Regions from separate parts of the Homo sapiens genome. Here region 2 is linked to region 1. The links are contacts of gene promoters, found by promoter capture Hi-C in human tissues and cell types (Jung and others, 2019). All regions are on one chromosome and are shown on one strand. Each heading gives the region's core, a stretch centred on a gene start or on the middle of the fragment in contact. The rest is flanking DNA. Distances are from core to core; before and after follow the strand shown. Region 1 holds the start of ZCCHC8 (zinc finger CCHC-type containing 8). Region 2 holds the start of HCAR3 (hydroxycarboxylic acid receptor 3).

The links. Contacts are between HindIII fragments. The study calls those that stand out against the background at their distance.
Region 2: a contact is called between the fragment with the promoter of HCAR3 here and the fragment with the promoter of ZCCHC8 in region 1, in 2 of the 25 tissues and cell types used here (mesenchymal stem cells and ovary).

Annotation. Positions count from the first base shown.
Region 1 is chr12:122,499,169-122,505,398 of GRCh38, forward strand. It overlaps ZCCHC8 (zinc finger CCHC-type containing 8), which reads right to left and starts at 1,764. Exons shown (of 14, transcript NM_017612.5): 1 at 1,474-1,764. The coding sequence starts at 1,672. It overlaps RSRC2 (arginine and serine rich coiled-coil 2), which reads right to left. Exons shown (of 10, transcript NM_023012.6): 10 at 4,286-6,230. RefSeq lists enhancers at 732-1,423, 1,424-2,117, 1,613-1,692, 1,893-1,952, 2,003-2,182 and 1 more and silencers at 1,323-1,472, 4,901-5,101. The HindIII fragment of the contact is 12,081 bases long and covers 1-6,230 here.
Region 2 is chr12:122,711,765-122,719,044 of GRCh38, forward strand. It overlaps HCAR3 (hydroxycarboxylic acid receptor 3), which reads right to left and starts at 5,047. Exons shown (of 1, transcript NM_006018.3): 1 at 2,992-5,047. The coding sequence starts at 4,973. The coding sequence ends at 3,810. The HindIII fragment of the contact is 11,637 bases long and covers 1-7,280 here.

The DNA of each region.
Region 1 (6,230 bases), core at 514-3,013:
CAACAACCACTATGTGATAAAGAGAATGCAGTATAACGAGCTGTTAACAACTTTAGAATTTGGAATAAATCTATGGATGTCCACTGTAGAATCCTTTCAACTTTTTTTTTTTTTTTTTGAGACACAGTCTCACCCTGTCGCCCAGGCTGGAGTGCAATGGTGTGATCTTGGCTCACTGCAACCTCCGCCTCCCAGGTTCAAGGGATTCTCCTGCCTCAGCCTCCTGAGTAGCTGGGATTACAAGCACGCGCCACCACGCCCGGCTAATTTTGTATTTTTAGTAGAGACGGGGTTTCACCATGTTGGCCAGGCTGACCTCCTGATCCTCATGATCCACCTGATCCTCATGATCCTCCTGACCTCATGATCCACCCGCCTCGGCCTCCCAAAGTGCTGGGATTACAGGCTTGAGCCACAGCGCCCGGCCTCAACTTTTTGTATTCTGAAAATTTTCCTCACAATGTGGAGGAAGACGACATTCTGAAAAAATAAATCGCGCTTCACAAACCTTAAAAACTGATATACTGACTGGGCGCCGTGGCGGGCGCCTGTAATCCCAGCTATTCGGGAGGCTGAGGCAGGAGAATCGCTTGAACCCGGGAGGCGGAGGTTGCAGTGAGCCGAGATCGCGCCACTGCACTCCAGCCTGGGCAACAGACTGAGACTCCATTCCCCGACCCCGTCCCCCTAAAAAAGCTAACATATCAGCCACTTTCAGTTCTCTACAAATTTTAAAAGGAAAACTACCCGAACCAAAGTTATCTATCTACCTATAAAACTCTACGAACGTAAAAAAAAACATACTAGCAAATCAAGAAAAATCTGCAATCTTGTAACTCAAGTCTAACAGAAACTTCTTTGGCGCGTTTTCCTCAAGGCGTTGCAAAGCATCTTCAGCACAGAAGCGAGCTCCGAGTGGAAGAACTCTAAAATTAATCCCCAATTTTAATCAAGCAATTAACCAATTATCTCAGCACACCCGGATTCCTTGAGGCCCCCAACTCTGCATTCTGGGACCACTAGCGTTTGCCCCGGTATAAAAACCGATCCCGCGTCTAAGCAGCCGGTATTTCATCACCTACAACTGTAACATGACGGCACAATTTGAGCGTGGCTGCGAAATATGAAACCTCACCACGACCTCAAACAGAGGGGGGCAATTAAGGGCTTGTGTACAATCTGTCAGGTGAGCAGCCTAAAATAACCCTAAACACGGCACCCGGGTGGGAGGCAGGAGTGGGTCTGGTCAGGAGACGGCCTCCCTGAGGGGAAGAGGTCTGCGCCGAGGCAGCCTGCGCGCCCCGAACCCTAGACTCTCGGTCCGCCGGCGGGTGACAGAAAGCACTTGGAATTCTGGCCCTCCTGGAACTTCCGCCCGCGCCCTCGCCCTCGCCCGGCGCTGCCCCGGCCCCACGCCTGGCGCTGCCCCGGCCCCACACCCGGGTGACAGGGCCCAGCGAGAGGAAAGGATATTCTCGGCGCGGAGCTGCTCGATGGTCTCCTCGCACTGCCGAAGCCGCTCCCGTAGCTCCGCGTCGCCGACCCCATTTTCGTCCTCCTCGTCGCCGTCGTCGTCCTTGAAGCGAGTGTGAACGGGCTTCGGAATCGACTCCTCTGGGTGGTCGAACGGCTCGAAGAGCTCTAGATCGCCAAAATACACCTCTGCGGCCATTTTGGGCTGTGGAAAAGATTCGAGAAGAGGCGGAGCCGGCCACCAGGGCTTGGGGAAGAAGGTTGGAAGGCGGCACCACTCTCTAGAGCTCTGGCCGCACGGAGCCACCCGCTAGGGTTTTCTCCAGACGCAGGCCGCGAAAGCTGCACACGGGGCGGGGCCAGTCGCTAGAGACTACAACTCCCGGAATGCAGCGGGGCCTATCGGGCTTGCGATTGCCCGGAGGACGGCATGCTGGGACGTGTGGTTTCTAAGCGACTGGTACTCATTGTCTGCATTGCATCCTGGGATTGGTGCTTTTTGAAATGTGAAGAAAGCTGGAGTAGGTCAGAATGCGCTAAAGCAATCTGGGGGCAGGGCGGGGTGGCTCACACCTGTAATACCAACTACTCGGGAGGCAGAGGTGGGAGGATCACGTGAGCCCAGGAGTTGGAGACCACCCTGGGCAACAGAGCGAGACCCAGACACTACAAAAAAATATAAAAATTAGCTGGGCGATTGTAGTCCCAAGTACTCGGCAAGCTGAGGCGGGAGGGTTTGAGCCCAAGAGGTCGAGGCTGCATTGAGCCCAGATGGCGCCACTGCACACCAGCCTGGGAGACAAAGCAAGACCCTGTCTCAAAAAGAAAAAGAAAAACAAAAACCAGTATGGGATGTTCCTGTTAGGCAACTAAGGGTGAAAAATCAGAGCACGACGCATAGCTTCTCACAGATTCTGGTGTGCGTGCCACACCAGAGAATAAGGAACTCCATAGCCTGAAAGGGAACTGAATAAAAATAAACATAAAAGAGAATAAGAAACTCCAGCTTTGCTACAGAGATGACTGTTGTAGATTAGTTTATTGAGCTTGCTTCGTTTTTAATGTAAGATTAGCTAGACTCAACTATTTGTCTGTTGAGGCTTTCTGTCATTCAATCACATTATTTACTTACACCTTCGATGGGCCAGGCACTTGTCTAGGACCTGAGTATGGTTACAAGAGTAACCACAATAGAGTAATTCCTCCTCTCACGAAGGCTGTAGTCCACAAAAAGCAACAAAAACCCCATAATTATAAATGTTCCTGTTCTTGGGTCGAGATGGTTGTTGATGGATATTGATCACACAAAGAAATGTGGGCCGGGGGCGGTGGCTCACATCTGCAACCCCAGCACTTTGGGAGGCCGAGGCAGGTGGATCACGAGGTCAGAAATTCAAGACGAGCATGACCAACATGGAGAAACCCTGTCTCTACTAAAAATACAAAAATTAGCCAGGCGTAGTGGCACACGCCTGTAATCCCAGCTACTCAGGAGGTTGAGGAAGGAGAATCGCTTGAACCCGGGAGGCAGAGGTTGCAGTGAGCCGAAATCGTGCCACTGCACTCCAGCTTGGGCGACAGAGCAAGACTCTGTCTCAAAAAAAAAAAAAAAAAAAAAAAGGTGAAAAACACAGGAAGTTATGAATATTTAACAAACACCCTAGTCTGTGGGAGTCAGTAAAGTGAGGAAGTGAGACTTTAAGGATCGGCAAAGTTGGGGGTGGGAGGATGGAAGAGTGTCTTAGGTGTAAGGACCACCATGTTGAGTGAAAAGGCAGAGTGGAGCAAGATGAGGTTGGAACACTGCTAGGTCAGTGCTCAAAGGCCCTTAAGGAAGCCTCTTTCCGTTTACAACATTGGGAAGTCACTTACACATTTTAACATTTTTTTTTTCTTTTTGTGGACAACAGGATCTCCCTATATTGCCCAGGTAGGTCTTGAACTTCTGAGCTAAAGCTATCCTCCTGCCTCTGCCTCCCTAAATACTGGGATTACAGGAATGACCCACTGTGCCTGGCCATTTAAATTTTTTTTTTTTGAAATTTTATTTTTTGAGACAGAGTCTCACTGTGTCACCCAGGCTGGAGTGCAGTGGCATGATCTCGGCTCACTGCAACCTCCGCCTCCCAGGTTTACTTTCACTGAAAAATCTGCATGAGGCCTGGCGTGGTGGCTCACGCCTGTAATCCCAGCACTTTGGGAGGCCCAGGCGGGTGGATCATGAGGTCAGGAGTTCAAGACCAGCCTGGCCAACATGGTGTAACCCGGGAGTTCAAGACCAGCCTAGCTGACATAGTGAAACCCCGTCTCTACGAAAAATACAAAAATTAGCCGGGCGTGGTGGCGGGTGCCTGTAATTCCAATTACTCAGGAGGCTGAGGCAGGAAAATTGCTTGAACCCAGGAGACAAAGGTTGCAGTGAGCTAGGATCATGCAACTGCACTCCAGCCTGGGCAAAAGAGTCTCTCACAAAAAAAAAAAAAAGAAAAAAAGAAAAAAAAATTCTGCATGTAAGTGGACCCTAAAGTTCAAACCCATGTGTTCAAGGGACAACTGTAATTTCATCTTTTAATTATTTGCATTTGGCTACTCAAAAAAGAAATTGAAATAAAATACTTAGGCCAGGCACTGTGGCTTCACACCTGAATCCCAGGTAGCACTTTGGGAGGCTGAGATGATGCAGATCATTTGAGGCCAAGAGTGGGAGACCAGCCTGGCCAACAGCCTGAGAACCCCATCTCAGGTACATTGTCATGGGCCTTTGGTGCCAGCTACTCAGGGGAGTGAGGTGGGAAGATCACTTGGACCAATATACATATACACACATATTTTATTGGACAGTGCTGCTCTAGATGAGCAAAGTACAGGCTGTATCACTCATCATGTATGGTCAGCTCCTAAAATAACTGTAGACACACAGGAAGCTTTTGCGTCCACACTGCCTTAGAAGGTCATGAACATTTTTAATAAGATTGATTTAAAAAGGCAGAGCTTAATTGAAAAATGTTGATGATCACGAAATGAAGGATCCATAGTGTCATTTCCTTAGAAGGCTTAGATTTGTCACTGAAACACGGTGAAAAGCCATTTTGCCATAGAATTTCTGTGCTCTGGGAAAATGAAAGGTTTATTAAAGTACATTAAAAATCTTACAATCTGGCTAGGTGAAGTGGATCACACCTGTAACCCCATCACTTTGGGAGCCCTGAGGTGGGAGGATTGCTTGAGGCCAGGAATTCAAGACCAACCTGGGCAACGTAACAAGACCTTGTCTTTATAAAAAATTAAAAACAAGCTAGGTGTGTTGGTGAGCACCTGTGGTCCCAGGTACTCAAGAGGCTGAGGTGGGAGGACTGCTTGAGCCTGGGGGAGCCTGCTGCAATGCACTGCACTCCAGCCTAGGACAGAAAGCAAAAAAAAAGAAAACACCCCATTACTTCATTTTCATGTATAAAAAAAATACCTAATGAGCAAGTTGGCAAGACTTAATTCCAGCTTTTAAAATAAGGCTGTCAATCTTATTCCTGTAGTCTTCCCTGATTGTAATGTGCTCTCATTCTGTGATGTTTTCCAAAGGATTTTTCAAAGGAAAGCCAAACCTTATTACTTTGCTGTAACTGAAGTAAATTAACTTCAAGTTTTGCAGGCCCCCCCCACCCCTTGGCTCCAGATTTATGTTCAATCTAGTAACAAAACATTTTCTAGGCTGGCTGCAGTGGCTCACGCCTATAATCCCGGCACTTTGGGAGGCTGAGGAGGGTGGATCACCTGAGGTCAGGAGTTCAGGACCAGCCTGGCCAACATGGTAAAACCCCACCTCTACTAAAAATACAAAAATTAGCTGGGTGCGGTGGTACGCCTGTAATCCCAGTTACATGGGAGGTGGAGGTGGGAGAATTGCTTGAACCTGGGGGGCAGAGGCTCTGGCAGTGAGCCGAGATTGTGCCACTGCACCCAGTTTAGGCAACAGAGCAAGATCCTGTCTCAAAAAAACAAACAAAAAAAATTTCTAATATTTTAATATTTTATAGTCTATGCTGGAGAAGACTTCAAAGGGATAATGAGCAAAAAGCATGCAAAGAACTTGTTATAAGGCACTTTATTAAAATAAAAGTGCTTACATCCCTTTAATGCATTAATCTATCTCCTGAATAACACATGTAATATTTGACAAATACTGAATACCAAGTCTGTCCCTTATAATAGGAAAACATACTATTTTAGTAAGTTTTCTCCTTCCACCTTTTACATTTTTGCTCACCACGGTATTGACTGTAGTATAGTTAACTGGCCTTAAAAAGGGTGGTGGGGAGGGGATTTCTAGCTAGTGTTTTCTAACAGCAATTGCCAAATGCTACAGAAACTATAAAACAAATTCAAAGAAACATCCCAGGTAACTTAAATTAACACCAGTTTTGAGAAAACCATTTTTATTATCATTACCACCCAGCTTATCTGTGCTGGATTATGTACCAAATGGCCAGATCTTCTAAAGAACATCTACATAACATTTCTTTCATGTTTCAAGAGATGAAAATAACTGTACAAGGTTAAGTACAAAAGTACACAAGACAGCGGACACGAAAAAATCCATGTATGAGATTTTATCCCCACCTGCAGCTTTTATATATTTGAAAAGTAGAATTCATGAACTAAAAAATATTATCCTTCTATAGTCCTGTCAAGTTTAATGGAAGTGGGTTTAACCTGATTACAACACTAACACCAGTATCACTGATCTGATATTTACAAAAATT
Region 2 (7,280 bases), core at 3,797-6,296, 220 kb after region 1:
GACTGCATGTGTGTGCCACCATGCCTGGCTAAATATTTATATTTTTTGTACAGATGGAGTCTTGCTATGTTGCCCAGGCTGGTCTTGAACTCCTGGGCTCACATGATCCACCCGCTTTGGCCTCCAAAAGTGCTGAGATTACAGGGGTGAGCCACTGTGCCCAGCCTGGTGTGTGTTCCTGTAGTCTGTTGTTCCATACACAAGTACACAGATACACGTATTTTAAAAGAAAATGGATATCATATTCTGTTTAGAAACTTTTTCATTTAAATATAGTATGATCTTCATCTCAAGTCTTTCATTACTTTTGTCTGAAAGGGGATCACGACCTCACTATATGGCAGGCCCCACGCTCATCGTGCTGGCCACATTGTTCCTCACTATAGTCGGTTGAGTTCTGGTTCCCAACAGCTATGTTCACCCCAAACCTTAGAATACAACCTTATTTGGAATAAGGGTCTTTGTAGGTATAACTAAGGTAAAGATCTCAAGATGAGAGCATCCTGGATTAGGGTGGGTTATAAAGACAGGCATATTTATGGCCGGGCCTGCTGGATCACACCTGTAATCCCAACACTTTGGGAGGCTGAGGCAGGTGGATCACCTGAGGTCAGGAGTTCAAGACCAGCCTAGCCAACATGGCAAAACCCTGTCTCTACTAAAAATAGAAAAATTAGACAGGTGTGGGGGTGCATGCCTATAATCCCAGCTACGTGAGAGGCTGAGACAGGAGAATCGGTTGAGCCCAGGAGGCAGAGTTGCAGTGAGCCGAGATGAAGCCACTGCATTCCAGCCTGGGTGACAGAGCGAGACTCTGTCTCAAATACAGACCAAAAAAAAAAAAAGAAAAGAAAAGAAAAGAAAAGAAAAGAAAAGACAGGTGTCTGTAAGAAGAGGAGAGGACACAGAGGGGACCACCATGTGGTGACAGGGGCAGAGATTGGAGTGAAGCGTCTACAAGCCAAGGAAAGTCCAAGAGTGCCAGCAGTCTCCGAAAGCTCGGAGTGAGGCATGAAACATTTTCCCTTAGCCTCCAGATGGAACCAACCCTGCCAACACCTTGATTCTGCACTTCTAGCTTCTAGATCTGTGGGAGAATACATTTCTATTGTTCCAAGCCACCCAGCCACAGGAAATGAACATGCAGTCACCAACCTAATTCTCACCTCAGGGCCTTTGCACTTACCATTCCCTCTGCTTGGCGTGTCTTTCCCCCAGACTTTTGCATTGCTTTTCTGTTTAGTCATTCATGGCTCAGCTCAGGGTCAATGCCTCATAGAAGCCATCCCAGTCACCCCAGCCCCGGTTACTTTTTATCCCCATTGTCCCACTCCACCATAGTCATGACACCCATAGCCACCCCAAGGCTCCTTTTTATTCCTGCCTGTCTCCCCACTCCAAAAGTCAGCTCGATGAGAAGAGGACTGTGGCTGCCTTGTTCCTTGTTCTATCTCCACCACCCAGAACAGCGCCTGGCACACAGTTGGCGCTTAATACATAAAACTGATGGAATGAGGCTGGGCACAGTGGCTCACACCTGTAATCCCAGCACTTTGGGAGGCTGAGGCAGGTGGATCACCTGAGGTCAGGAGTTGGAGACCAGCCTGGGCAACACAGCGAAAGCCCATCTCTACTAAAAATACAAAAATTAGCCAGGCATGGTGGTGCACACCTGTAATCCCAGCTACTGGGGAGGCTGAGGTAGGAGAATCACTTGAACCCAGGAGGCAGAGGCTGCAGTGAACCCAGATCACACCACTGCACTCCAGCCTAGATGACAGAGTGAGACTCGGTCTCAAAAAAAAAAAAAAAACAAAGAACTGATGGAATGCCTGAATCAGTGAATGAATGTGAGCTGTGGAGGTCCAAACACCCCAAACCACCTCATCCCTTGAACGAATCCGCGTTTCACAACGAGGCTCCCCACTGACTCATGCCTCCGAGGCTGGGGAATCCCTATTTTCCTCTGAGCTCATCCCTGACATCTCTTCCTCTTTAAGGTGATCCTTGCTTTTGGCTTTTTACCTGTACATTGCTTGGTGATACAGACAAGCCAACTGCTCTGAAAGCACAGAGGTAATTCCAGAGCATCCACCTTTCTTCATTTACTGTCATTCACCCAGAGCTGGGAGCCTGTCTCTAAATTCCTTATCTGTGTTCATGTCAGGAGGTTGAAGCAAGCCTCGTCTTGCCAAATAATCAAGGACTGACAGAGTTAGAAATGAAAGCGTAACAGAAACTTGGACTGATCACAGACTCAAACCAGTACATCTCCTTTCCTTCTCCGAATTGGGAACTGAAACCATTCCATAGGAAGCTCGCTCTTCCCCCTCCTATGGAAAAATATCTGCCTGGCTTGATTCCCTTTTTATATTATTTATTATTATTATTTGAGATGAAGTCTTGCTCTGTCCCCCAGGCTGGAGTGCAGGCACACCACCTCGGCTCACTGCAACCTCCGCCTCCCGGGTTCAAGCAATTCTTCTTCTCCCAGCCTTCCCAGTAGCTGGGACTACAAGCGGCCGCCACCATGCCTGGCTAATTTTTCTTGTATTTTTAGTAGAAGTGGGGTTTCACCATTTTGTCCAGGCTGGTCTCAAACTCCTTACTTCAGGTGATCTGCCCGCCTTGGCTCCCCCAAAGTGCTGGGATTACAGGCATGAACCATTGCACCTGGCCTTGATTCCCTTTTTAATGCACAAATATGAAGAGCAATATTCACCAAACTCTAATAAAATGTAAGTGCTCTTGCAATCCTATCTGTACTATCCTTCCAAATTATTTTTAATCCCAGCTCTTTCTATCTTTGTTTAGACACAGGTGTAATTTCTGCTTAGTTGTTTCATGATGTAGCTCAGTGTCTGTGTCTCTTTCTTACTTTGCAGTGTGGAGTAGTTTTCTACCAGGACAAAGTTAACAACCCATAAAGGTCTCTGCTTAAGTAAGAAGTCCATTTCTGTGAACCATAACCCAGATATAGCAACGCCAGACTGTCTCCTATCAAAATTTATTGAAATGGTAGATTTTTGGTAAGTACAGAAACACAAGCGAAGGAACCAGGAGGAACGTGCACCCCTCTACCCGTGGGGCAGAGGCACGTTTCCCTTTTAATGGTAAAAGCAAACAGGTGGGAAACAGCTTTCTATCCTGAAGCCGTTTTAACTGTTCAACCCTTAGATTACTATAAACAAGAGAGGAATGGATTGCATTAGTCGCTGGTTGAAAGCAGCAATGCCATTTCCTTTCCCATAATAACACTGTTTAGCTCAGTCCCTTCTGGGGCTAATCCCCTATTACACCCACCGGAAACACAGATACTAACCAAAGCATGTGAGTCTCTTCCCTGAGTCCATTTCTGCTAAAGATTGTCTGAAAGATGAATTGGTCCACGGAAGCCAGGTGACCTACTGGCTTGTTTAATGATGCCTGGGCTTCCTCCAGGAACAACACAATTCCCTCCAATCTCAGCTCTCCTTATCCCTGCTAGAGCTCACAAGCAGGCTAGATATCACCCCAGGAGCTGAGCCCCCTCCAGTCTGAGGCAGATGTGGGAAGAAGGCCAACAAGTCACAAGTAGATCTCTGGCTCCAACTCTGCTCAGCAGAAACGCCTACAATTTGCCCATCTTCAGTCCTGCGAGCGTCAGAGATGAAGCAAGTTTCAGATGCCTAGAAGCTTTACTCTCTGTTCCTCCAGGATTCCTGCGGTCACACCTTGCAACCAGTCTCCCACTCATCTGCCACAGTTTCCCTAAATCAGATTCTCTGAATCTGGAAGTTCCAGGAAATCTTAGGCCGAGTCCAGTGACATTACTCGATGCAACAGCCCAACTGTTTCTCCAGAGATGCTGGTTCTTGGTGACAATGTCCCTTCTTGGAATGGTTATTTGAGGTTGGGCCCAGATAAGAGGGGCTCCATGGCTCACCGGAGTTGGCGATTAACGCCTCTGGAGCGCCTCTGGTTTTGTTGGGGTCCCCTGTGAGCTCGACGCTCGTGCTGCGGTTATTATCTGGCTCACCTGTTATCTTCCTCTGGAGGCAGCGGTTGATCAAAGTGGAGAAGAAGTTGGGAAAGGATGGGCTGGAGAAGTAGTACACCACGGGGTCCAGCATGCTGTTCATGTAGGTGAAGCTGAGAGTGATAAAGAACGCCAGGTCCACCGAGCGGTACACTTCACAATTCTGCGTGCCCGAAGTGTGCAGGAGCCAGAAGATGTGGATCCGCACAACCACGCTGGGAAGGAAGCAGATGACAAAGACGATGGCCACCACCATGATGAAGGTGATGGCTCTCTTGATCTTGGCATGCCGGTCCATTTGTCTCTGCCGCAGGCTCCAGATAATTCTGGCTGAGCAGAACAGGATGATGCCCAGGGGCAGGAAGAACTCCAGGAGGAACATAGCTTCGTGCCACCGGAAGGTATGGCAGATGCTGAAGCTGATGCACACATTTGCAGTGCCATTCTGGATCAGCAACTTCTTCTTCAGGAGGTGGACTGTTAGGCCAACAGTGATGCCCCACAGAAGGCAAGAGATGATGGCTGCTGTCCAATTGGAGATCTTGTTCAGGGCGTGGTGGGGATGGACCACCCGGAAATACCTGTCTACCGCCACCACCGTGAGGAATATGATGCTGCCCTGGCGGTTCATGGCAAACATGAAGAGCACCAGCCGGCAAGGGATGTCCCCAAACTTCCAGTCTGAACGCCGCACATAGTAGTCCATCACGAACGGCAGGCAGATGATCAGTAGAAAGTCAGCTACTGCCAGGTTGAACAGGAAAATCCGGCTGGATTTCCAGGACTTGAGGTGGAAACAGAAAATCCACAGGGCAAGGCCATTGCCCAGAAGCCCAAAGATAAACTCCAGCCCCAACACCGGCGGCAACACCTTGGCAATGAAGTCATCTCGGAACACACAGCAGTTCTTCTTGTCTATTTCCAGAAAGTGATCCTGCAGATGGTGCCGATTCATGAGTGCAGCTAGTGAGTCCGATGGAGCGCCTCGCCTAGTGAATGCTCCAGCAAAGTGGCGTGTGTCTGTATGGTGAACGTGTGGTTCCGTGCCTGCCTTTATGTCATGTCAGGGTGTTGAAATAGATGACTGAATGGTTATCAGGAAACTACGAAATCTCTAAAAAAAAAAAAAAAAAAGCCAGCAAGGCTCTTATGCAACCTGCTGTTTGCATAAACAAATAATAAAAATCCCCTGGGCATACAGGAACCCACCAAATGTCTTAAATGTAAAGGATAAGTTTAGGCAAGCTGACTGTCATTCGAAAATCAGTGAAACATGAAGGACATCCCTTTGGAAGGCTGGGTGCTTGTATGCCAACTGAGTACTCAACGTTGCAGAATTAATTCACCGTCATCTGCTTGGCTGACATAATTAACAAAACAACAACAATAGCAATAATAATTTTTGGTGCCAAACAGTGAGGTTTTCCAGAAACACTAAGAATTAGCATGAAAAATTAACAGGCATATGACATAAACAGTAGCAGGCATATGATTTCTTTTGGAAATGCTGAGAAGACAGTAGTTGCCTGTTTGATGAGGACAGACTGGTTGAATTTGACCACTTTTCCTATGCTACCTTTCTGTACAAACATGGAGTGCTTTTCCATATCAGAACTCTGCCATTCATCTCCAGTTAGGAAAAAAAAAAAAGCCTGCTGGAGAGTGTAATATTTCATAAGATGTTTGAAAACTTGAGCCCAGTTTCAGTGGCATGTTAAAATAAGTTGGGTTTTTTGTTTGTTTATATTAGATTTTGATATGCTTCTGTGCTCAAGTGATTTAAGTATGTGATTTCTTTTTTTTGCAAACTTTGAATTAATGAGAAAAGGATTCATGAGGCTAGTTGTAAGCTGTAGCAAATCGGGTGTACTTTGTGCTACAAATTTGTTTTTCTGTGTCGCTCTGCATGAAGAGGGGTACCTTAGGATAGAGCATGGGGTTAGTACCCCATAAGCTGTCTGTTCTAGACAGCCCAGGAAACTGGTCAGTAAGAAAGTTGGTTGCAGGTCCCTGAAACAAACAAAAAACTGGATGAGGTCTCTAACTTGTTTTATGTCCTTGGGACCTTAGGATGTGATTTTTTTTTTTTGAGACAGAGTCTCACTCTGTCACCCAGGCTGGAGAACGGTGGAACAATCTCAGCTCACTGCAACCTCCGCCTCCCAGGTTCAAGCAATTCTTCTGCCTCAGCCTCCTGAGTATCTGGGACTACAGGCGTGCGCCACCACGCCCAGCTAATTTTTTGTATTTTTAGTAAAGACGAGGTTTCACTGTGTTGGCCAGGCTGGTCTCGAACTCCTGACCTTGTGATCCACCCGCCTCGGTCTCCCAAAGTGCTGTGATTACAGGCGTGAGCCACTGCGCCTGGCCGTGATTTTTTTTTTTTAATGAACTTTATTTTTTAGGGCAGTTTTAGATTCACAGCAAAATTGAGCAGAAAGTACGGACGGTCCTGTGCACTCTGTCTCCACACACGCAAAACCTCCCCCACTAAGTATGTGATATTTTTAAAGCCCCCATTTTTGTAAAATTAAACTTAGAGTGACAGGACCTAAGAGGACATGGAACCCTGCCTTGTAGCGGGACACCATTGCACACATTGTTTCTCTGCTTGTCAGTGCGATTGGGTGTCATCCTATAGAATGTTTTCTCCCTTTAATATTTTGGTCTTATGAATTCTTCCATGCAGGAGACTTCTAAACTATGTTGCTTCTACTTTGAGTTATATAATGTAAATTTCTTCCTTTTTTTTTTTTTTTCTTTTGAGATGGAGTTTCACTCTATCGCCCAGGCTGGAGTGCAGTGGCTCACTGCAACCTCTGCCTCCTGGGTTCCAGTCATTCTCCTGCCTCAGCCTCCCAAGTAGCTGAGACTACAGGTGCCCGCCACCGTGCCTGGCTAATTTTTGTATTTTTTAATAGAGATGGATTTCACCATTTTGGCCAGGCTGGTCTTGAACTCCTGACTTCAAGTGATCCTCCCGCCTTGGCATCCCAAAGTGCTGGGCTTACAGGTGTGAACCATCACTGCCGGCCATAAGATGTCAATTTATTTCTTTAGCTGCAAACGCAGGTTCAATAATAGGAGCTTATAGAGTCTTCAAGTAAACTAGAGTTAGGATGACCTAATATTAGGTTCCCATAGAACTACAAGTACTTGATGATGATCCAGGTGAGATGAAGACAATGATGAAGATGATGGTGGCACCTACATTATAGAGAGCTTCCCATGTGCTGGAACCCATACTCAGTGCTTTTTTTTT